7 separate regions of the Homo sapiens genome follow, and all the other regions are linked to region 1. The links are contacts of gene promoters, found by promoter capture Hi-C in blood cells and fetal thymus (Javierre and others, 2016). All regions are on one chromosome and are shown on one strand. The core of a region is centred on a gene start or on the middle of the fragment in contact, and the rest is flanking DNA. Distances in the headings are between cores, read along the strand shown. Region 1 holds the start of PTPN4 (protein tyrosine phosphatase non-receptor type 4). Region 2 has its middle 21 kb from the start of TMEM185B. Region 3 overlaps EPB41L5 (erythrocyte membrane protein band 4.1 like 5). Region 4 overlaps EPB41L5 (erythrocyte membrane protein band 4.1 like 5). Region 5 overlaps EPB41L5 (erythrocyte membrane protein band 4.1 like 5). Region 6 has its middle 7.5 kb from the start of TMEM185B. Region 7 overlaps EPB41L5 (erythrocyte membrane protein band 4.1 like 5).

The links. The method cuts DNA at HindIII sites, captures the fragments that hold promoters and counts their contacts. A CHiCAGO score of 5 or more calls a contact.
Region 2: a contact is called between a fragment that was not itself captured here and the fragment with the promoter of PTPN4 in region 1, in 10 of 17 cell types (total CD4 T cells, total B cells, monocytes and 7 more). The highest score is 9.3, in total CD4 T cells.
Region 3: a fragment that was not itself captured here is called in contact with the fragment with the promoter of PTPN4 in region 1 in 10 of 17 cell types (total CD4 T cells, total CD8 T cells, naive CD4 T cells and 7 more); the score reaches 7.8 in total CD4 T cells.
Region 4: a contact is called between a fragment that was not itself captured here and the fragment with the promoter of PTPN4 in region 1, in 15 of 17 cell types (non-activated CD4 T cells, total CD8 T cells, naive CD4 T cells and 12 more). The highest score is 18.3, in non-activated CD4 T cells.
Region 5: a contact is called between a fragment that was not itself captured here and the fragment with the promoter of PTPN4 in region 1, in 13 of 17 cell types (total CD4 T cells, total CD8 T cells, naive CD8 T cells and 10 more). The highest score is 13.6, in total CD4 T cells.
Region 6: a fragment that was not itself captured here is called in contact with the fragment with the promoter of PTPN4 in region 1 in 16 of 17 cell types (fetal thymus, non-activated CD4 T cells, total CD8 T cells and 13 more); the score reaches 35.5 in fetal thymus.
Region 7: a fragment that was not itself captured here is called in contact with the fragment with the promoter of PTPN4 in region 1 in 14 of 17 cell types (endothelial precursors, total CD8 T cells, total CD4 T cells and 11 more); the score reaches 15.2 in endothelial precursors.

What each region holds. Positions count from the first base shown.
Region 1 is chr2:119,758,156-119,761,426 of GRCh38, forward strand. PTPN4 (protein tyrosine phosphatase non-receptor type 4) reads left to right here and starts at 1,767. Exons shown (of 27, transcript NM_002830.4): 1 at 1,767-2,229. It overlaps LOC101927764 (a long non-coding RNA gene), which reads right to left and starts at 1,559. Exons shown (of 4, transcript XR_007087215.1): 1 at 1,477-1,559. RefSeq lists silencers at 1,309-1,418, 1,969-2,268 and enhancers at 1,458-1,752, 1,469-1,728, 1,999-2,623. The HindIII fragment of the contact is 4,728 bases long and covers 1-2,538 here.
Region 2 is chr2:120,200,498-120,203,824 of GRCh38, forward strand. No RefSeq gene overlaps it. Among named protein-coding and RNA genes, the nearest start is that of TMEM185B, 21 kb to the right of the region's middle. The HindIII fragment of the contact is 543 bases long and covers 1,616-2,158 here.
Region 3 is chr2:120,093,680-120,096,842 of GRCh38, forward strand. All of the region lies in intron 14 of EPB41L5 (erythrocyte membrane protein band 4.1 like 5), which reads left to right. Among named protein-coding and RNA genes, the nearest start is that of EPB41L5, 82 kb to the left of the region's middle. The HindIII fragment of the contact is 1,001 bases long and covers 864-1,864 here.
Region 4 is chr2:120,110,611-120,114,028 of GRCh38, forward strand. All of the region lies in intron 16 of EPB41L5 (erythrocyte membrane protein band 4.1 like 5), which reads left to right. Among named protein-coding and RNA genes, the nearest start is that of EPB41L5, 99 kb to the left of the region's middle. The HindIII fragment of the contact is 8,828 bases long and covers 1-3,418 here.
Region 5 is chr2:120,148,470-120,151,686 of GRCh38, forward strand. All of the region lies in intron 20 of EPB41L5 (erythrocyte membrane protein band 4.1 like 5), which reads left to right. Among named protein-coding and RNA genes, the nearest start is that of TMEM185B, 73 kb to the right of the region's middle. The HindIII fragment of the contact is 4,020 bases long and covers 1-3,217 here.
Region 6 is chr2:120,229,388-120,232,343 of GRCh38, forward strand. No RefSeq gene overlaps it. Among named protein-coding and RNA genes, the nearest start is that of TMEM185B, 7.5 kb to the left of the region's middle. RefSeq lists enhancers at 1,771-1,820, 2,553-2,762. The HindIII fragment of the contact is 1,026 bases long and covers 1,104-2,129 here.
Region 7 is chr2:120,130,720-120,133,747 of GRCh38, forward strand. It overlaps EPB41L5 (erythrocyte membrane protein band 4.1 like 5), which reads left to right. Exons shown (of 25, transcript NM_020909.4): 18 at 899-996. Among named protein-coding and RNA genes, the nearest start is that of TMEM185B, 91 kb to the right of the region's middle. The HindIII fragment of the contact is 597 bases long and covers 1,470-2,066 here.

The DNA.
Region 1 (3,271 bases), core at 517-3,016:
GAACTCCAGGTGATCAGCATGTATATTAAAGTGTGAGATATACTAATTTATTATTTCCCAATTCAATTTTCAGTGGGCCCATGTGAGCCTGGGGCACAGTCTAAAGCTCTCTCTCTCTTTTTTTTAAGGACAATAATTGCTTCTTCTCTTTCCAGGGTTGCAGGCAGGTAGATTTAAGGTGAACTCAGATTTTTCAAGGAATAATGGTGAGTATTGGTAACTTCAAAGGGTCCATCCTGGTGACTTGCAGGGGAAGTTCCACTCAGGAACTTTTGTGTCTTGCTTAACACCAGACACAAGACTACATGTAAGCCATGTGGCTCACATGTGTAATCCCAGCTACTCCGAAGGTTAAGGTAAGATGATCTCTTGAGCCCAGGAGTTGGAGACCAGCCTGACAACATAGCGAGACCTTGCCTCTAAACAAAAATTACATATTGTATGATTCTATTTATATGAAACATTCAATTTCTGGTGGAAGTCTCATATGATCTTTGGTTGGAGGATGACTGGATGTTGACAGATGACAATGAGGTGAAGAGCATTTTAGCAGAGGGAATGGCATGATCAAAGACAAAATGGAGAGTCAGAGGCAGGAATGCATATTTAGGGAGGAATGAATGAGCACTGGCTACAACAGAGATCTGGGAAGAAAAGCAAGTGAAGGAAGTAAAGCTGGAAACATGGATTGACAAGTTGCCTTTTTCAAATGGAAAAACTAACAGGTGTGAGGGAGAAGAGAGTCAATAGAAATTTCTGTCTTTTCCAGATTTGTTCACATTCCCCTGATTTGTAGTCATTTTGTCGGCTTGGGAAAGTGGTTTTTGAAAGATCGTCTTTATAAAGGTAGGCTCTGATAGGATGCTCAAGCTAAGAGCAAGGAAGGACAAAGAAGGCGCCTGGCGACAGAAAAGGGCACTAACAAAAATTGGGCAAAAAGGAAGTGTGGCGGTCCCCAAATCCCTTCTTCCTCCATTTCAGCTGAGATCATTCGCCAGTAGGCAACTGTGGTATTACCAATAAGTTTGTATCACCAATAAAATATTATAATGCACCTGGCTAAAAACCCTGGCGTGATAACACCAAATTCATGTTATTAGAAGGAATTAAATTTTAAAAAGCACACCGTTCCAGGCACACAGAAGGAGCCCCCGAACGTTTGTTTTATAAACGCAGGTTGGTTGCTGAGGCTTTGTTTTGGAGCCTACGTTTAGGAGAGGAAATGATTCAAAACTGCCCCCCAAAACCTATATCCTCCAGGAGCACTGAGGTTGGGGCGACCTGCTGCCAACTGGTCTGGTTTTCCCTTTTAACACACGCTTCTTGCCCACTATCCGGTCCCTGCGGTCAGTGGGTGCAGCAGGGGTCGCAGTCCAAACAACCAATCGCGACGCGGCTGCGGGGCGGGGGCCACAGCGCTCCGCCTCCCCCCTCCAATCCGCCCTCCCAATCCTCCTAGGCCGCTCTCTCTCGCACCTGCGTGTCCCTCTGCGCTCCGACTGGTGCGACTTCTCCCTGCGCTAGCGAGGCAGGGTTTTGGCCTCGCCTCTCGCGAGATCGCCTCCTGTTGCTGCCGCCGCCGCTCCTGGCCACTGACTGGCGGCGCCTGCGCAGCCGCCATGTTCGGTTGCTATGCTGCGGCCTAGGAGAGGGGGTGTGCTTGAGGGAGGAGGAAGAGATAGAGGAGGAGGAGGGGGAGGAAGAGGAGGTGGAGAAGGAGGGGGGTGACTGAGCTCCTCTTGCACTCTCACACACAAACGCTGCCCAGGATTACCCGCCAGCTCACGCCGCGCAGTGCGCTTTTCCGCTCCTCGCGCCCCACCACCAACATTGTTCTCTCAGGACTCCTGGGTCCCAGGGGCCGGAATTGGGCCTGAGCGGGAGAGGAAAGAGACTTGGCTTTGGCCGCGGGGTCGGAGGATTGGGGCCAGGCCCCCTCCCCCACGCACTTTTGGGGGTGTGGATTATCTCATCCCTGCAGGGAGGTAGGAGAGGTCGCCGGCTGCCCGCCTCCCTGCCACCTCCCCAGCGGCGCCGGCCCGCGGCTGCCCAGCAGCATGAGGTGGTGCTGGCGGCTCCGGGTCGTGGCGCGACCGCTGCGGCGGCGGCTGCTCGGGGGGCGCTGAGGTAGCCCCCCGGAGCGGCACGGAGGACGCGCTTCTCCTCTGCGCGCCGGGGCCTCGAGGCTTTTTTTCTCCAGCCGAGAGGACGCGGCTGTGATATACGAAGGTAAGAGGTTCTCCGGTCCCCGCCGGCCTCTCGGCCCTGCACGTTGAACGGGAGGCTCTTACCTGCATGTGTGGCTCCTGGGAGGTGAGCCAGGTGGGGCAAGCCGGAGGTACGAGGATGATTTGAAAGGAAGGAAAAAAGGACAAAAACAAACAAACAAACAAACAAAAAAACGCTTTCTTTCCTTTCTTCCTGGGACCTCTGCTTTTGCGGGGGTTATAGTTGGAATCTCTGTTATGGGTCAGCGAAGGGCCAAGGGATGGAATAGGTGCGGAGATGGAATGTTCCCAGTACCTAAACTCTAGGTAAAGCTTTGGAATCTTGAGTTTTCCATTGCTGGTAGAATTCCTTTTTTTTTTTTTTTTTTTTTTGGCTCATATGAGCGCTTCTTGCACGCTGCATGAGCCAACTATTCCTACCATTGAAGTTTTAAGCCTGTTATGATTCTACCAGTATATACCTGTATTTGGGAATCTGTAGTTGAGCCAAAAAAAAAAAAAAAAAAAAAGTTGAGATGTGGGTAAACAGTGATGCATTTCGCAGGGTTTCCATAAAATGGAACAGCTTACAGTTGCACAGGTGATGTGTGGATGTTTCTGCAAAACTTAGGGTGGAAGATTTTATGTCTGGGCTTGCATCATGTAGTGACATCAGTATGTACAAGGACGATTTGTAGGATTTTTCAAAACGCCTGTTCTAGGATAACTTGTTATGCATCTGCAATATGCCAGCTGCTTTTCGAATAAGAGGTTTCAGTAATACTAAGTTTCTGTGTCCAGATCTTGGGCCCAGTTGAAACAGTACAGCTGATTGGTCACATTTAAAACATATTTATGGAGAAAGATAAAAGGCCAATGTGTCCGACTTGCAAAAGACAATTAGAGTAGAAAGAAGACTGGAACAGTAAAAGCCAGGGCATTTTTAAATCTTGGTTTTCTGAACTTTAACGTGCCAGAGGAAAAAAATTTTTTTTCAATTTTAAGGGGGAAGGAGATGGCCTTAAAATAAAGGATTGTTCAGAGCCTAAACTGTGCTTAATGGA
Region 2 (3,327 bases), core at 637-3,136, 440 kb after region 1:
GAGGACATTATGCTAAGTGTGATAAACCTTATACGAAATGACAAATACTCTATTATTCCACGTGTCTGAAATATCTAGAATAGTGAAATTCATAGCGATGGAAAGTAGAATAGAGGTTACCAGGGGTTGGGGAAGGAAGGGAATGGGAAGTTGTTGTTTGATGGGAACCCAGTTTCTGTGTGGGATGATGAAAGGGTTTAGAAGTGGATAGTGCTGATAGTCGCACAACAATGTGAATAGAATCAATGCCACAGAATCATACGCTTAAAATGCTTAAAATGGCAAATTTCATAATTATATATATACACACACACACACATACACACATATACATATATACATGAGTGTGTATATATAAAACTACTCGGCCAGGCACGGTGGCTCATGCCTGTAATCCCAGCACTTTGGGAGGCTGAGGCGGTTGGATCACCTGAGGTCAGGAGTTCGAGACCAGCCTGGCCAACAGGGTGAAACCCCGTCTCTACTAAAAATACAAAAAATTAGCTGGGTGTGGTGGTGCTCACCTGTATTTCCAGCTACACGGGAGGCTGAGGCAGAAGAATTGCTTGAACCCCAGAGGCAGAGGTTGCAATGAGCCAAGATCATGCCATTGCACTCCAGTCTGGATGACAGAATGAGACTCCATCTCAAAAAAAAAAAAAAAAATACACACACACAAGCACGCTTACAATGGTATGTGACCCAGTTGAGGCCAGTGAGATGGGAGAAACTGGCTAAGGGCTTCGGGGGAACATTTCCTCATTCCTAGTGAGAGCTGATGGATGAGACGTGGTCTCTCCTGTTTCTCTGGACCTGGTCTCTGGAACTGCTGCAGCCATCTTGTGAACAGACTGAGAATTAAGCCAACAGGGGGCCACAGACAGATAGATGTGGGTACCTGAGGATGTCATGGAGCTACTGGACAGCCTAGGAAACATGGTGAGACCTGTGTCTACTAAAAATCAAAAGCATTAGCTGGGCATGGTGGCATGCACCTGTGGTCCCAGCTACTTGGGATACTGAGGTAGGGGAATTGCTTCAGCCTAGGAGGTTGAGGCTGCAGTGAGCCATGATCACATTGCTGCACTCCAGCCTGAGCGACAGAGCAAGATCCTATGAAAAACAAAAACAAAAAAATGCTACTGGACCAGCGGACTGCTATGAAGTCAGTCCTATCTGGGCTTTACAGTTTCATGAGATGATTTTCTTATTTAAAAAAAAAGGAAGTGTTGGAGGCAATTAATAAAGAGCTCGGCCGGGGGCGGTAGCTCACGCCTGTAATCCCAGCACTTTGGGAGGCCAAGGTGGGCGGATCACGAGGTCAAGAGATCGAGACCATCCTGGCCAACATGGTGAAACCCTGTGTCTACTAAAAATATAAATAAAACTAGCCAGGCGTGGTGGCACATGCCTGTAGTCTTAGCTACATGGGAGGCTGAGACATGGTCTCTCCTGTTGGGGAGAGGCTGAGGCAGGAGAATCGCTTGAACTCAGGAGGCGGAGGTTGCAGTGAGCTGAGATCACGCCACTGCACTCCAGTCTGGTGACAGAGCGAAACTCCGACTCAAAAAAATAAATAAAAATAAAGAACTCAAAAAGTCCAACTCTTTCCTTAAGCTTAAAATAGATAATTTAGAAAAAAACCTGAAAGATGAGAAATCTAAATGTTTAGACAAATTGGTCTGATGTCTGACCTTACCAGATCAAGAAGATGAATGAAAACCTCCTATTTCAAGTAGCTGCAACCAAAGCAACCTTCAAAATCCATCAAAAGAAAGAGCAAGTGCACTTTGAGAGGCTGAGATGGGCAGACCACCTGAGGTCAGGAGTTCAAGACCAGCCTGGCCAACAGGGTGAAACCCCGTCTCCACTAAAAATACAAAAATTAGCTGGGCGTGGTGGTGCATCCCTGTAGTCCCAGCTACTCGGGAGGCTGAGGCAGGAGAATTGCTTGAACCCAGGAGGCAGAGGTTGCCATGAGCCGAGGTCACACCACTGCACTCTAGCCTGGGCAACAGAGTAAGACTCTGTCTCAAAAAAAAAAAAAAAAAGCAAGTGTAGACAACATTAGAAGATGCTTTGGAGGCCAAGTTCTTTCTTCAGGGAAGCCTGGCACTGCCCTCTGGCAAGGCCAAAGAATGGAGAGGAAGAATGAGCAAGCTTACGCCCCAGAAGGAATGGCTAGGAGGTAGGAGCTTGGGTTTAGATGTATCGAAGGAGAGATGACCTAGAAAATGAACCAAAAGCAGTTTTAAAAAAATATGTGTAGGCTGGGCGCAGTGGCTCATGCCTGTAATCCCAGCACTTTGGGAGGCCAAGGCGGGCGGATCATGAGGTCAGGAGATTGAGACCATCCTGGCTAACACAGTGAAACCCCATCTCTACAAAAAATACAAACAAAATTAGCCGAGCGTGGTGGTGGGCGCCTGTAGTCCCAGCTACTCAGGAGACTGAGGCAGGAGAATGGCGTGAACCCAGGAGGTGGAGCTTGCAGTGAGCCGAGATCGCACCACTGCACTTCCAGCCTGGGCAACAGAGCGAGACTCCGTCAAAAAAAAAAAAAAGTGTTGATGTGGCTGAGTTATATACTTATTTGAAAACTCTTAGGGGAAAAAAAGAAACTCAAGGAATACTAAATTAACTGAAGCAGCTAAAATAATGGATTGCTTCAAGACCACGTGAAAAAAAATCTCCAAACCGAGAAATCCATACTGCAGTCAGAAAAGCACAGTTAGAAGGGGAGGGGCAGAAACAATTCTGGCAGAAACTTCAAGTCCTTTCTGAACTCGTGAAAAAGAAATGAATTTTCACCCAATACTCAGTCTTTCCAAAGCAGCAAGCAGTCCCTGCATTCCCAGAGTGACTTTGGGGGAAGTCAGAAATTGCACAAGTGATTATGGTAAAGACTGAAGAGTGTTCCAGAAAGAGGACCTATAGGGCACCCCGCGGATGAAGTGCAATTATGTAACTTCCTAGCGTGCACGTCATGGATCATTACAGGGACCCGGGCACCTGGACAGGGCTGAGTGGCTCTGGGGCACCTTGTTTCTCTAGGCTGCAGGAAGCCTCCAGGAGTGCCGCTGCTCAGCCCTCCACTGCAGGCACTGACCCGCCTCCCCTGGCTGAAGTGGGAAAGACTGAGGTTAGCCAAGGGTCTCTGTCCTGAACTTGCCTCAGTGACCAGGAAGTCAGTCCAGCCCCTCCAAGTCACAGGCAGCAGCAGGACTTCCTGCCTGGGCTTGTGTGGTGGGGAACACACAGCCTTTCCCTCCCTTTCCAGGTCCCAGCCATCACTTTCCCATGCTTTGCTTGTGCTTTTGAACTGAG
Region 3 (3,163 bases), core at 114-2,613, 340 kb after region 1:
GATTTCATTAGCCTGGTATGTTTTTGGATTTGTGTGTCTATTCATCAGAAATATTGGCCTGTAGTTTTCTTATAATGTCATTGTCTGGTTTTTTATGTAGGGTGGGTAATACTGGCTTTACAAAATAAGTTTGTATATGTTCCCTCCTCATCTATTTCTTGGGAAGAATTTGTAAATAATGGGTATTAATTATTTAAATGTATGGTAGAATTCACCATTAAAGCCATCTTTCTCTTTATGTGAATCTTAAAAATTCTTATGAGAGATCTGTTCAGATTTTCTTTTCTTCTCTTTTTTTTTGTTGGGGTGGGGGTAGGGGACGTGCAGGGCCTAGCTCTTTCACCCAGGCTGCAGTACAGCAGCTTGAGCATGGCTTGGCTCACTGCAGCCTCTCCCTCCTAGGCTCAAGTGATCATCCCACCTCTGCCTCCCAAGTAGCTGGGACTACAGGCACTTGCCATCATGCATGGCTAATTTTTAAATTTTTTGTAGAGATGGGGCCTCCCTGTATTGCCCAGGCTGGTCTCAAACTCCTGGGCTCAAGCAATCCTCCTGCCTCTGCCTCCCGTCTTGCTGGGATTACAGGCGTGAGCCACAGCACCAGGCCCTCCCGGATTCTCTTTTTCTTCTTGATTCAGTTTGGGAGTTTGTATCTTTCTAGAGTTTTATCTCTTTTATCTGTGGTATCTAGTTTGTGGGGATACAGTTTGTATTCCCTTTTCCTTTGTATTTCTAAAAGTTCCATAGTAATATCTCCTCCTTCCTTTCTGATTTTTAGTATTTTGAGTTTTTTTTTTTCTTGCAAAAAAAAAAACTAGTCTAGCAAAAGGTTTGTCAATTTTGTTGACGTTTTCAAATAGAAAAGCTTTTGGTTTCATTGATTTTTCTGTTTTTCTGTTTCATTAATTTTTGCTCTATATTATTTTTTCCTTCCACTTTAGGTTTAGTTTGCTGTTTTTCTAGTATTTAAGGTGGAAGATTAGGTTATCTGAGATCTTTATTTTTTAACATTTAAAGATATTAAATTTCCTTTCAAGCACTGCTTTAATTCAATAAGTTTTGCTATGTTGTGTTCTTGTTTTTTGGTTACCTCAATTTATTTTCTAACTTGTGATTTCTTCTTTGACTTGTTTGATTACTTAGGAGTGTGTTGCTAAATTTCCTTGTATTTGTGAATGTCAAAATTTTATTTTTTTCTAATTTTATTCCATAATGGGTAGAGGACATACTTTGTATGATTTCAATCCCTTTAAACTTATTGAGACTTTTTTTATGGCCCCTCCATATGAGTCACCCAGGAAAATAGTTTATGTGTACTTAAGAAGAGTATATATTTTGCTGTTTCTGAGTGGAGTGTTTCATAGATGTCTGTTAGTTTATTGTGTTCAGATCTTCTGTTTCATTGTTCATCTTTTGCCTAGTTTTAATCCGTTATTGAGAGTGGAGTATTGTAGTCTACAACTATTGTCTATTTCTTCCTTCAGTTCTTTCTGTTTTTGTTTCATGTATGTTGTGGATTTGGGGTAGGTATGTATGTGTTGTTAATTGTTATATTATCCTGATGGACTGTTCCTTTTTATCTCTAGTAACTTTTGTTTTAAAGTTGATTTTATTTGATGTAAATATTGCCAGTCCAGTTTTCATATGGTTGCTTTTCCATGATATAACCTTTTCATCAAGTCTGGAAGTTTTTACCCATTATTTCTCTAGATATTCTTTATGCTGTCTTTCTCTTCTCCTTCTGGAATTCTCATTAACATGTAAGTTGTTACACTTGATGGTGTCCTACAGGTCTCTGAGTCTGTTCGCTTCTCTTTATACTTTTTTTTTTTTAGACTACATAATCTCACTTGACCTGTCCTCAAGCTTACTGATTTTTTTTTTTAAACCACTTAAATGTTTGTTTCACTGGCGAGAGTATCTACTTTTGTTTTCAAATTACCATTCTGAAGGTCTTGCTTCTGATGGCTCCATTAATTAAATTTAATTAATTAATTAATTTTTTTTGAGACGGAGTCTTGCTCTATCGCTCAGGTTGGAGTGCAGTGGCATGATCTTGGCTCACTGCAACCTCCGCCTCCCAGGTTCAAGCGATTCTCCTGCCTCAGCCTCCCAAGTAGCTGGGATTACAGGCACGCACCACCATGCCCACCTAATTTTTTGGATTTTTAGTAGAGACAGGATTTCACCATGTTGGCCAGGCTGGTTTCGAACTCTTGACCTCATGTGATCCGCCTGTCTCGGCCTCCCAAAGTGCTAGGATTACAGGTGTGAACCACCACGCCCAGCCGGCTCCATTAATTTTAATATTACTTATTACAATGAGGCTATATCTGTGGTCTCATATAATGCTTAATAATTGGTATGTATTAGAGTCTCCTAGAATGCCTGTTAAAGATAAGATTCAGACCATACCCACAAATCTAATTTATTTTTGAATTTGTCTGTACTCTTATATGGCAGTTGTCTCACTAGACTTTTTTCAAAAGAAGTTGGTTATTTTTGGATATTGAGTATCATCAGCCTCACCTTGAAATGTCCATTTTTTTTTCACTTTGAAAGCTGTTAAAGCCAGTCCGTGATTAGTGATTGACTATAATAGCACTCCGCTTTCTGAACAAGGACTCCCCTCAAGTTTCTTTAGCTGTCAATAGGCTGTTGAAAATAAATAAATAAATATAACAGGGAGGAAGTGAAATTTCTGTGAAACTCTCTCCGTGAGATTTTTATTAGGTAAAAAAACAACATTTTGTGCCTTTTCTGTGCTGTATACTTTTATTTTTCTTGGATTTATTTATAAGCTATGTTTTTCAGAAAAGTAGAGTAATGGCTGGGAGCAGTGGCTCATGCCTGTAATCCTAACACTTTGGGAGGCCAAGGCAGGCAGATCACCTGAGGTCAGGAGTTTGAGACCAGCCAGACCAACGTGGCAAGACCCCATCTCTACTAAAAATACAAAAATCAGCTGGGCGTGGTGGTGCGCGCCTGTAATCCCAGCTACTCTGGAGGCTGAGACAGGAGAATTGCTTTAACCCTGGAGTCGGAGGTTGCACTGAGCCGAGACTGCGCCACTGCACTCTAGCCCGGGTGATAGAGCAAGACTCCATCTCAAATAATAAAAAGAAAAAGAAAAATGGAGTAATGTTTGAGATTTTTCTGTACC
Region 4 (3,418 bases), core at 683-3,182, 350 kb after region 1:
CACCCTCCTGCCCTACCTTCCCCTATTTTTTTTTTTTTTTTTTTGAGACCAAGTCTCACTCTTGCCGAGGCTGGAGTGCAATGATGCAATCTCTGCTTACTGCAGCCTCCGCCTCCTGGGTTTCAGCAATTCTCCAGCCTCAGCTTCCGGAGTAGCTGGGACTACAGGAGTGCGCCACCATGCCCAGCTAATTTTTGTATTTTTTAGTAGAAACGGGGCTTCACCATGTTGGCCAGGCTGGTCTCAAACCCCTGGCCTCAAATGATCCTGATCTGCCCGCCTTGGCCTCCCAAAGTGCTGGGATTACAGGTGTGAGCCACCGCTCCTGGCCCCCTGTTGTTAACACTCCACATACATTCCATAACTTGTACCAATGTTAATTTCTTAGATTTTGTTTGTTTCACAAAACCTAAGAAATTAACATTGGTACAATACCACAAACTAAACTGGACCTTACTCAGGTTTCACTAGTCTTTCCACAAATTTTCCAGGATCTGACCCGAGATCCCATGTTACATTTAGTCCCCTTCAGCCTGTGACAGCCATTCCATGTTTTTCATGGTTGGCCAGATGCCTTGTGGAATATTTCTTGATTTGGGTTTGTGTGGTATTTTCACATGATTAGTTTGAGGCCACGGATTTGGGAGAAAATACTGCAGAAGTGATATTGGGCATCCCGAATTTAATATGTTCAAAATTGGACAAATATATCTCCTGACCCCTGCAGTTTTTCCCATCTTTGTGGTTTTTGTAGCTTCGTAAGTGGCAGTTCTCTTTTTCGTGTTGCTAAGCGTGTCTTGGGCTCTACTTTAGACCTGCTGAATCAGAAACACTGGAAGTGAGGTCCAGCAATCTGTTTCACATGCCCTCCTGGAGATTCTGATGCATACTGAAGTTTGAGAAGCACTGACTTAGACCAGAGCACCTTATAGTCATCTTGACTCCTCTTTGTCTCACACTCCAGATTTCTTTCAGAATCAGTAAATTCTGTCAGTTCTGTCTTCAAAATGTATCCAGGTCTACTGCTTGTTACCATCTTTACTGCTCCCATCCTGTTTCCATTTGTTGTCAGCCCTGCCCTCTTACCTGGCCTCCTTGCCATTGCCCTTGCTCCTCTACTGTCTGGTACTCCTTTCAGCAGCTGTAGTGATAACAGCAGATCATGTCATTTCTCTGCTTACACCTGCCAGCGTCCTTGTCTCGGAGTAAAACCTCAGATCCTCACATTGATAGAAACATGCTTTTTCCTCCCTTTATCTTCTATCAATCCTGACCTTGCTTACATCCAAAGACTCATCTTCTTATACTTGCTCAAACATACCAAGCATGTTCTCTCAGGATCTTTGTACTTTTACTGCTTCCTGAGTATTCCTCCCTTCAATCTCTTATGGTTCATTCCGGCACCATCAGGTTTCTTATTGGAGAAGCCTTTCCTGACCACTCTGAAATAATCATGTTCCCCGCCCCCTGCCCAGTCTTCTTTTTATTTCCTGTCTGCCTTACCCTGCTTTATTTTTTCTCACTCCTTTCATCTTAGTATGTGTTTGTTTGTCCTCTCTATACAGATAGTCCCTTATGATGATTCTTAGGATTTTTCAACTTTATGATGGGTTTATGAGAGTATTAAGTGCATTTTTGACTTACGATGGGTTTCTCAGGACATAACCCTATTGGGTAAGTCAGAGTGTCCGTTTTTCAACAGAATGTACGCTCCGTTAAGGGAGAGCATTTATTTTGTTTCCTTCTGTATCCTCAGACACTCCATATATATTATTTGATTGAATCAATGAATACCAAGCATGTCTTGGCACATCTGGTGATGCAGAAATAGTCAAAATACTGTTCTTGGCTTCAAGAAATTTATACTCAAACTGTGGAGATAAACAGTTTTACAAATAACTGATAAAGTGCTAAATCCAGCAAGCAAGAAGAGTAGAAGTGGTTGAAGTTAAGAAGGCTTCTTGGCATTTGCATCAGGTTTCCAGTGAAACAGAAAGGAGCTTTGAATGGATAAATCATTACGGGCCCAGGGACCTATAGGAAAAGAAAATTCTAAAGTAGCTAAGTGCAAGGTGTAGTCCAGGAATGATGAATCAGGTTTGAGTAAAGAGTATAGAATTTATGGGAAGGTATCGTGATAATAATAGCTAATACTTGAGTGCTTCTGTGCCAGACATTGTTCTGGAGGTACAGCAGTAAGTATTCACTCTAGCAAAGCATCCTCATTTAATCCTTATGAGGATCTATAAGGTATTCAGGCTAGTGAAGAAATGAAGGCACAGAACAATGAGGCTGGGCTTCAAACTCAAGACAGCTTAGTCCTAGAACCCAGCCTTGGCTACTGTACTGCCTCCATAACTCTGTAAAGGTTGTTGGGGTCCAGATTGTAGAGAGTAAAAAGGAATGTAATAATTCTATTTTAGGGGGCAGTGTGAAGAATGAATTCCAATTGGTGGAAGACTGGATTGTATTATAAAAATATGCTGCCTCCATTCTATGTAATTGTTAAAGAATCAGGTCAGTTTTCATGTACTTTTACTAGAGGATATCAGTGACACTGTTGAGTTTAAAACTTAAGTGTCTGAGGTTTGTTCCCATTTTTGTGAAAGCAACCAAATCATGTATATATTAGTAAGTGCACGCACACATGCAAGAACCTAACTAGATAAACAGGCTTTCAGAAAATGGGAGTGAGGGTAACATTGCTTTTCTTAGCTATCATTCACAACTTTAACAATAAATTACTCCAAATTATGGAAGGAGACAAGGAAAACTGCTTCAGTTTACACAGGCAAGTGTCCATGAAAAGTAAGGAAATAGGTAGAAGAAAGAATGTCTTTACATATTTCTTTATACATTCTTGAGAGATGGATATGAACTAAGACATTACCAAAGCCACAGATTAATAATATTATGTGTAACTACGTTTAAAAAAATTTAAGTGTATAATTCAGTGGGTTTAGTTTATTCACAAAGGTGTACAACCATCACCACTATTTAATTCCGTAACATTTTTATCCCCAAAAGAAACCTCTTTCCTATTAGCAGTTACTATCAATTATTCCTTCCTACTAGCCCCTGGCAAACACTAATTTACTTTGTGTTTCTATAGATTTGCCCATTCTGGAAATTTCCTAAAAGTAGAATCATACAGTGGGTGTTCTTTTGTGTCTGACTTTCACTTGGTATGGTGTTTTCAAGGTCATCTGTTTTAGCATGTATTAGTACTTGATTCCTTTTAATGGCTTAATAATATTCCCTTGTATGATGCCCAGTGTTTTATTTATCCATTGTCAGTTGATAGATATTTGAATTTCTGCTTTTTGTGAATGATGCTATGAACATTGAGGTGTAGGTTTTGTATGAACATGTGTTCTCAATTGTCATGGTTATATCCATAGGAGTGAAATTATTGGGT
Region 5 (3,217 bases), core at 392-2,891, 390 kb after region 1:
ACCTTACCTAAAGTCTGCAAACACTTTACCCATTAGCAGTCACTCCATATTCTGCTTCTTGCCCAGCACCTGGCAACCACTAATCTACTTTGTCTCTGTGGATTTACCTACTCTGGACAGTTTATGTCAATGGAATTATACGTGTCCTTTTGTGTCTGGCTTCTTACATTCAACGTAATATTTTCCAGATTTGTCCATATTGTAGCATATGTTGGTACTTTGTCCCTCCTTATGGCTAAATAATATTTCATTATATAGATATACAACATTTATTTATCCATATATCAGTTGATGGACATTTGAATTGTTTCCACTCTTTAGCTATTGTGAACAAAGCTAGACGTGAATATTTGCATACAAATTTTTTTTTGTAAATATACTTTCAGTTCTCCTTAGTATATACCTAGGAGTAACACCATTTCTCCTCAGTCATATGGTAACTCTATATTTAACTTTCTTAAGAACTGCCAAATGTCTTCCAAAATGGCCGTAACATTTTTCATTCTTACCAGCAATGTATGAGGATTCCAATTTCTCCGTGTCATTGACAGTGCTTATTATTCTCCTTGTTTATTATACTCATCCTAGTGAGTATAAAGTGTGTCTCATCTCATTGTGGTTTGATTTGCATTTACCTAAGGACTAATGATGTTGAACATCCTTTCGTGTATGTCTATTTGGAGAAATGTCTATTCAGATCATTTATTTTTGTAGTAACAGCTTCATTGATAAATTTGATTCAAATACCACACAATTCATCCATTTAAAGTGTGCAATTCAATAGTTTTTGGTACATTTTTGTACATTTAGTACATTCTGTATTTAGTACATACAACCACCATCAGTAACAAATTTCAGAATATTTTCGTCACCTCAAAAAGAAATCCCCTGCTCTTTAACTGTAACCCCATCTACCCTGCACTGCCTTTCCCCTAACCCTGAGGAAGTACTTTTCTACTTTCTGTCTCTATAGATTTACCTATCTGGACATTTCATATAAATGATACTCTGTAATATGAGGTCTTTTGTGTCTGGCTTCTTTCACTTAGCATAATGTTTCCAGGGTCATCCATACTGTACTATTATGTATCAGGACTTTATTTCCTTTTATGGCTGTATAATATTTCATTGTATGGATATACCACAGTTTGTTTATTCATCTGTTGATAGACATTTAGATTGTTTCCACCTTTTGACTGTTAGGAATATTGCAGCTATGAATAGTCATGTACAATTTTGTGTTTGAACACCTGTTTTTCAGTTACACATCTAGAGTAGAATTCCGGAGTCATACGGTAATTCTGCTTTTAACCTTTTAAGGAACTGCCAAACTGTTTTCTACAACCACTGCACCATTTTCTATTTCTCCCAGTAATGAGTGAGGGTTTTTATTTCTTTACACTCTCATGGTATTTCACTGTACTTTTTTTTTTTTTTTTTTTTGAGACAGGGTCTTGCTCTGTCACCCAGGTTGGAGTGCAGTGGCACAAGCACAACTCATTGCAGCCTCAAACTTAGGCTCAAACGATCCTCCCACCTGAGCTTCCTTAGTAGCAGGGACTACAGGCACATGCCACCATGCTCGGCTAAGTTTTTTTTCATTTCTGGGAGAGACAAGGTGTCACTGTGTTGCCCAGGCTGGTCTTCGAACTCCTGAGCTCAAGCGAGCCTCCCATCCCAGCCTTCCAAAGTGCTGAAATTACAGGTGGGAGCCACCACACCCAGCCTCAGTGTACTTTTGATTTGCATTTCTCTAATGATTAAGAATGTTGGGGATTTTTTCATGTGTTTGTTGGCCATTCGTGTAACTTCTTTGGATAAATGTCTATTCAAGTCCTTTGCTCATTTTTTATTTTATTTTCTTATTTTTTAGAGACATTATTGCTCAATCACCCAGGCTGGAATGCAGTGGCACAATCATAGCTCACTGTAACCTTGAACTCCTGGGCTTAAGTGATCCTCCTGCCTCAGCCCTCTGAGTAGCTAGGATTACAGGCACACACCACCCTGCCCAGCTAATTTAAAAAAAAAAAGTTTATTTTATTTTATTTTTTTAGAGATGGGGTCTCACTAAGTTGCTCAGACTGGTCTCAAGCTCCTAGCCTCAGGCAATCCTCTTACCTTGGCCCTAAAAAGTGTTGGGATTACAGGTGTGACCTACTGTGCCTGCCCACCCCATTTATTTTTATTTCTTTTTTTTTTCTAATCCCATGACAGATTACCCATTTTTAAATTGGGTTTACTTTATTGTTGAATTGTAGGAGTCCTTGATTGAATATCAATTCTTAATACTAGACTCTTACCGAATACATGATTTGAAAATATTTTTTCCCATTCTGTGGATTGTCTTTTCACTTTCTTAGTGATCAGCCTTTTGATGCATAAAAATTCTTTGTTTTGACGAAGTCTAATTTATCTACTTTTCTTAGGTTGTCTGTGCTTTTAGTGTTTTATATAAGAAACCATTGTGAAATTCAAGATCATAATGATTAACAGTTGCATAGCTTTGGCTAGAACTTCCAGTATAGGAAACATATTTAGATCTTCTGTCTATTTTCAGTTAATTTTTTCAGCTGGGCATGGTGGCTTATGCCTGTAATCCAGGCTGATGTGGGAGTATTGCTTGAGCCCAGGAGTTCGAGACCACCCTGGCTAACACAGTGAAACCCTGTCTCTACTCAAAATACAAAAAATTAGCCGGGTGCCTGTAGTCCCAGCTACTCGGGAGGCTAAGGCAGGAGAATGGCGTGAACCTGGGAGGCGGAGCTTGCAGTGAGCCGAGATCACGCCACTGCACTCCAGCCTGGGCGACGGAGCGAGACTCCATCTCAAAAAATAATAATAATAATAATAATGCAGAAAAAAACCTATTAGATCTAATAAACTCAGCACAGTTGCAGAATACAAGATAAATACACAAAAATCAGTTGTATTTCTATACACTAGCAGTGAACAGTTTGAAAACAAAATTAACAACTATGTTACAACAGCATAAAAGATTTAAAAACCTAGGAAACAATTTAACCAAGGAGGCAAAAGACTTGTACACTGAAAACTACAAAACACCACTGACCTCATGATCCACCCACCTCGGCCTCCCAAAGTGCTGGGATTACAGGCAGGAGCCACTGCGTCTGGCCCTTTTTTTTTTTTTTTTTTTTTTAAAGACGGAGTCTTGCTCTTGTCACCCAGGCTGGAATGCAATGGCGCGATTTTG
Region 6 (2,956 bases), core at 367-2,866, 470 kb after region 1:
AATATTAAATGGAAAATTCCAGAAATAACTCCTAAATTTTAAATGACACTCTGTTCTGAGTAGCGTGACAAAATCTTGCTCCATCTAGCCTGGGACGTGACCCCTCTCTTTGTCCAGCATCTTCACACCGGGCGTGCTCCCTGGGCGATCACATCAGCTGCCGCCAGATCACTGTCCCTCTGTTCAGGTCACCCGTGTTTGACTTAATAATGGCTCCAAAGCACAAGAGTACTGTGCCTAATTTACAAATTAAACTCTATCGTAGGTGTGTATGCACAGGGAAATACATAGTGTGTATAGGGGTTTGGTACTATCTGCGGCTTTGGGCATCTACTGGGGGTCTTGGAACATATCCCCTATGGATAAGGGGGGACAACTTCATTCTAAAGACCCTTGACACATAAAGCCTAGTGTGTCTTTTTTTTTCCTTTTTTTTTTTTTTTTTTTTTTTAGATGGAGTCACTCTGTCACCCAGGCTGGAGTGCAGTGGACTGATCTCGGCTCACTGCAATCTCCACTTCCTGAGTTCAAGCAATTCTCCTGCCTCAGCCTCCTGAGTAGCTGGGTGGTACAGGTGCACCACTATGCCTAGCTAATTTTTGTATTTTTAGTAGAGATGGGGTTTCACCATCTTAGCCAGGTTGGTCTCAAACTCCTGACCTCAGGTCATCTGTCAGCCTTGGCCTCCCAAAGTGCTGGGATTCCAGGCGTGAGCCACTGTGCCCAGCCTTTTATTCTGTTTTCTGTGTTATCTTTGAGGAAATGGAGTCAGTGCCACCCCGAGTTGTGGTGTGAGTCTGCTTGTATTGATAGCAGCTGGCAGAGCTTATTTAGAAAACTCCACAGGGTTGAAGAATTAAAGAGGCTGAAATCAAAGGTAGACTCAAGTATAGGGCTGTATAATATTAAAAGTCAACTAAAAACAGGGCTAGTGTTGACATGTTTGTGAGTGTGCAAATGCAGAAGTCAGGGTTTTCCGCGTCAGATCACAGCCTTCAAATGTTATGAACAACACAGTGAGCATTGGGATCATTTAATTTGAGGCATTCACATATAATTAAATATAATTAATTCAAACTAATATTTTGTGGAGGTGAGTGGGAAGCTTCCTGAATTATGGAATTAGGCAATCCAGGTATCAATTGTACTTAAGTTGACATTACTAAAATATTTTCAAAAGTTTTCATGTACAATTTAAGTTTTTTCCCCAGTCTTATTTGCACTCTTAATTTACTCAGCAAAACATTTTTTTCTTGGACAAAGGTCATTCCCAGCCCGGCTCTCACCTGGCTTTGTCATAAATTCCAAGAGAGTGTGATGTGGACAAATGATGTGCTTCCTGCGTCAGAAACAGACGTTTGTAAAATTGTAATCCTAATTTCACTCTGGGTTGCCTTTCATTCTTCCATTGCCAGGTGCAAAGCAGCAAAAAAGTAAAATAAAATAAATGCCTCTGCACGCCACTGAGAGCCAGGCCCTGGAGTTACCCCATGAACAGTGTGGGGCTCCTGACTTAAAGGGGCATCCAGCAGTATAGCAGGCAGCACGGCCTGATGACTCGGGCCACAGGAGCATGGCCCTCCCCTGTCAAAGCTGACTTCTCGTTTCTCAGGACAAAATCCATACGCTTTACCGTGCCCTTCAAGGCCCTGGCTGACCGGCCGTGGCCCATCTCCCTGGCCTCACCTCACTGCCCATGGGGCTCCTATGGCCACCTCAGCTTCTTTCTGCTCCTCAGACTCCCAGACTGGAGCCGTTGCTGCCTCAGGGTGTTGCTTTATGTGTTTTCACAGATGCCTTTAGGGGAGATAGACCTAAAAGAGTCTGGGCAACATGCACAGCCTCCAAGCAGTTCACTCATCACTCAGCTACTATGGCCAGACTGCCTGCTAGTGCCCGGTAGGTGCCAGGCCCTGGGGAAGGAAGCAATGCCCTGTGGCCCTTGTTCCCAAGGACCGAGCACTTTTCCACGCAGTTAAGGTGCACAAACACAAAACACCGAATAACGCTGAAAGAGCCCAAGAGAGGACCAGAGGTCACTGGGCTGAATATGATGAAAAGTCAACTAAAAACCAGAAAAAAAAAAAAAAAAACATTGGAAATAAGCTATAGGGCAGCGATCAGGGAGAAGCTTGTGCTCTGAGCTGCAACAGAACCCCAAGGAGACCACTATCAAGAGGGTGCCCTGGTGTAGTTAAGCATGGGCCAAAGAAGGGACCACCTGGGTTCAAACTTGGCCTTGTCATTTCAGCAGCTGTGTGTCCTTGACCAAATGGCTCAGCCTCTCTGAGTCTAGGTTTTCTCATCTGTACAATGGGGATAATAATATCTACTTCACAGGATAGAGGTGAGATAATAGAGATACAGGCCTGGCACATTCAGTAGATGCCCGCATGGGCACGTACTCCCCTCCCACGCCCCACCCTGTGCTGGTGTAGAAGAGAGTGCCCAGGAAGATCTGTGCTCGAGTCAGCTGGGCATAACTAAGGACACCTTAAATTGTGTAACCAGGTGACAGGCACCTCATTCATTCTCCACCCTGGGGCTGGTTCTGCTTTATAAATTAAGGGGGCCAGGGTGGCCCAGAGGTCCCCAGATGCAGGTCCAAATGCAGCATTGCTGGCTACATACAGGCAGATTCTGGGGCCTCACCCCGAGAATCTTGGTGATTCAGACTCACCAAGTCAGAATCCTTGCGGGTGAGGCTCGGAAACCATTTTTGTAAGTCTTCCCAGGTGATTCCAAGTACAGCCAGGTCTTCGCACCCACACAGCCAGACGGCCCCTGAAAAGCTTTCTCAGCCTTTGCAGTCTGTTTCTGGCCGCATCAAATGTGCTGAGCAGTGTGGGTTTGGTTCAGTGTTCATCCCCCACTTTCATCAGAGACAGGGGGCTTCTCTTGGTCCTCACTCATGGGAGGAAGCCGCAAGCGGAGACGACTAAGTGGAGAAATAAAT
Region 7 (3,028 bases), core at 518-3,017, 370 kb after region 1:
TCTTGGGTGAGCCCTGGGAATGAGCGTTTCTTGAAAGCTCTCCAGCTGATTGTTAACGTGTATCCGGGGCCTCCACTCAGTTAATTGATGGCCACTTTTAGAAGATCCCTTTGACCCAGAGGATATGATTTCAAAGTTTCCCCCTCTTTTCTTCTTTCTGATCATATAGAAATTATTAGGCATTCAACCTTTTTTGTCAAGTTGACAGTGTAAAATTTTATGCACACATCAAATTAATCTCTGCAAAATAAGATTATTTCAGGACAGTTAATTTTAAAAGTCTTCATTTAAAGATGAATTGTGTTTAATGTATTATGTTTTCAGTGGTTAGAGGACTTTGTAATGTATTTTGCCACTAGGAAGAACATTATGAAGACAAAATGCTTGTCTTGCGTCACACCTGATGGTACCAATATATAATATGTTGAATCAGTGAACGAATAAATATATATTCTTCATTAGTTTGTTCCACATAAATTTAGTTTTAGGCAGTAGTCAGGGCCAACGAACAAAGATGGCAAAGTGTTGAGGTTAGACATGAGCCTGGGTTGTGGTTATGAAAGAAAAGGATCATGTCACAAGTGTTCTGTGCCTTTTGGGTCTCTTGGCTAGGTAAACCTTCTTAACCACACATGCTAGGGAGATTTCACATCTACTTGCTTTTTAGGAGTGCTGCAGATATAGGGTGGTGTTTCTACTTAGGATTAACTCTTATTCAAATTAATGGACAGATAGCTGGTTATGGAAAGAAAATATATTTATTTTGTGTTTATCTGGATTATTACTTTTAGTTGATGATAACTGATGTTGAGAAGACAAAACAAAACCATACCCTCACACAGCTAGCTGTGACAGCCTGGCAGACTGGGGTTATTTTGCCTTTTTTTTTTCTTTTCAGCATTAAAAGACACCTCAGAGAAGCTCAAACAGCTTGAGATGGAGAACAGTCCTTTGCTGTCCCCTCGATCCAACATCGATGTTAACATAAACAGCCAGGTATTCAGATTTCCCCTGTGTATACCTGTTACACATCTCCAGAGCTCCCAGAAATATTTTCTTTCCAAAGACAGTACTTTCTTTTTTCTTTAGCTGGGAAATCTGTCTGTGCTGAGTTCTTATAAACCTGTTTTCTCATTTTAAAGGGTGAAATATGTAGATGTTTAGGAGGGAAGGGGGAAACTTGCACAGCAAAGTGAATTGTAAGGTGATTTCATGATTTAAAAAAAAAAACACAGTCAAGATGAGTGTTAAACCTTTTATTTTGATTGACCCAGTCTAGTTGGAAGACTTGCTGAAGCCTTTTGAAATTACAGAAGGATTTGTTTTAAAGAGAGCTGCTCTGTGGTATAAACAAGAAAGAGAATAGAATTTCAGATGCTTTAACTTCATCTATCATTCCTTTCTCTCCCCTGTCCCCTTTGAATTTTTTTTGTTGTAGGGTGGGGGATACATACCAATTACACCAATCAAGCTTCAATTTATAGTTTGGCTATGATTTTCTTATTTCTATGTTAAGTAACTTATAGAAAGAGCTAAAATAAATTGAATGAGATGGAAATTTTATAATTAATCATATCAGCTACCAGATGGCCCCACTAAATGGAAGAGTTGATTTTAGGTAATGACCTGGAAATGGCCTTTTTTTTCCCTCTACATACAGACAACTGATAACATGACCAAGATGAATTTTGTTTTTGTTTTAAAGAGGAAAGGAGAACGGCTGACTCACGGTGTTCTTCCATTCTTGGATAACTAACTGGAATTCCTTTAGAGACCAGCAGAGAGTAGAAAGTGATTGTCTTCTGTCTCGCACTCGCACTGTTATGATTCAAACTGTCTTTCGGGATCCAAGCCTTTTTTTCCCCTTTCTTTCTAATACATTTTTTATTAGAAATAGCTGTTAGAAGGTGATTCAATTTCAGAAAGGCTTTCCATTTTCTTGACTTTTCAGTATTCTATCCCACTTGTCTGTTTGCTTTTACAGTGTCAGTTTTTTAAATATATCTCTGTAAAGTAGGGGAATGCAGGGCCAGAGACAGAAGGATAAATGGAAAACTTTAGATAAAAGCTTTAGATGATTAATAACTAATGGAAATTTAGTGGAGGACTGGAATGACCCTAAAGAATGAAGCCTGGTAACACTTGGGGGTAGGGAGGAGTGGGGGGCGGGGATTGTTGGCTGTGCTCAGAGTTCATGGAAATCTATTGAACAGCTACTTGTTTCTTTGTAAAATGTCCTGCTTATCTCACTATGATATAACTGATCCTCTGAGGCAGAGAGTCTGCTGCATTAGTTTTGAAGCCTTGAAAAGATGAGGAGGAGTGTGGGTTCAGGATAGGAGAGTAAAGGAGCACTTTAGGTGAAGGACAGAGTGCCATCAAAGAACTTTTAGGGGATCATATAGCTAGGAAGAATAACAATATTTAGTGAGGGTTTACTCTATGCCAGACAAGAATAGAAGGAAGGAGGGGATGGAGCAAGATGGCCAAATATAACCCTCCAGTGATCATCCCCCTTGCAGGAACACCAAATTAAATAGCTCTCCATACAAGAAAGCACCTTCATAAGAACCGGAAATCAGGTGAACCATCATAGTACCTGGTTTTAACATTATACCAAGGAAGGAGGCACTGAAGAGGGTAGGAAAGACAGTCTTGAATGGCTGATGCCACCCCTCCCCTATGGAGGAGTGTGGTGCTGAGAGAGAATCTGTGCTTGGGAGAGGGAGAGCACAGTGACTATGGCACTTTGTATTGGAACTCAGTGTTTGTTGGTCTGTCTGTCGGAATGGAAAGCAATGCAGGGCACAATTTCGCTGGTGCCCACAGAGGCTGCATTTAGAACAGCCCTAGCCAGAGAAGAATCTTCCATCCTAGCAATTGGAACCTGAGTTCCAGCTAGCCCACCGCTGTGGGCTAAAGTGCTGTAAGCTCCTAAATAAATTTGAAAGATAGTCTAGGCCACAAGGACTACAATTCCTGGGCACATCCTGGTACTGTGCTGGGCTCAGAGCCAGTGGACCTGGGG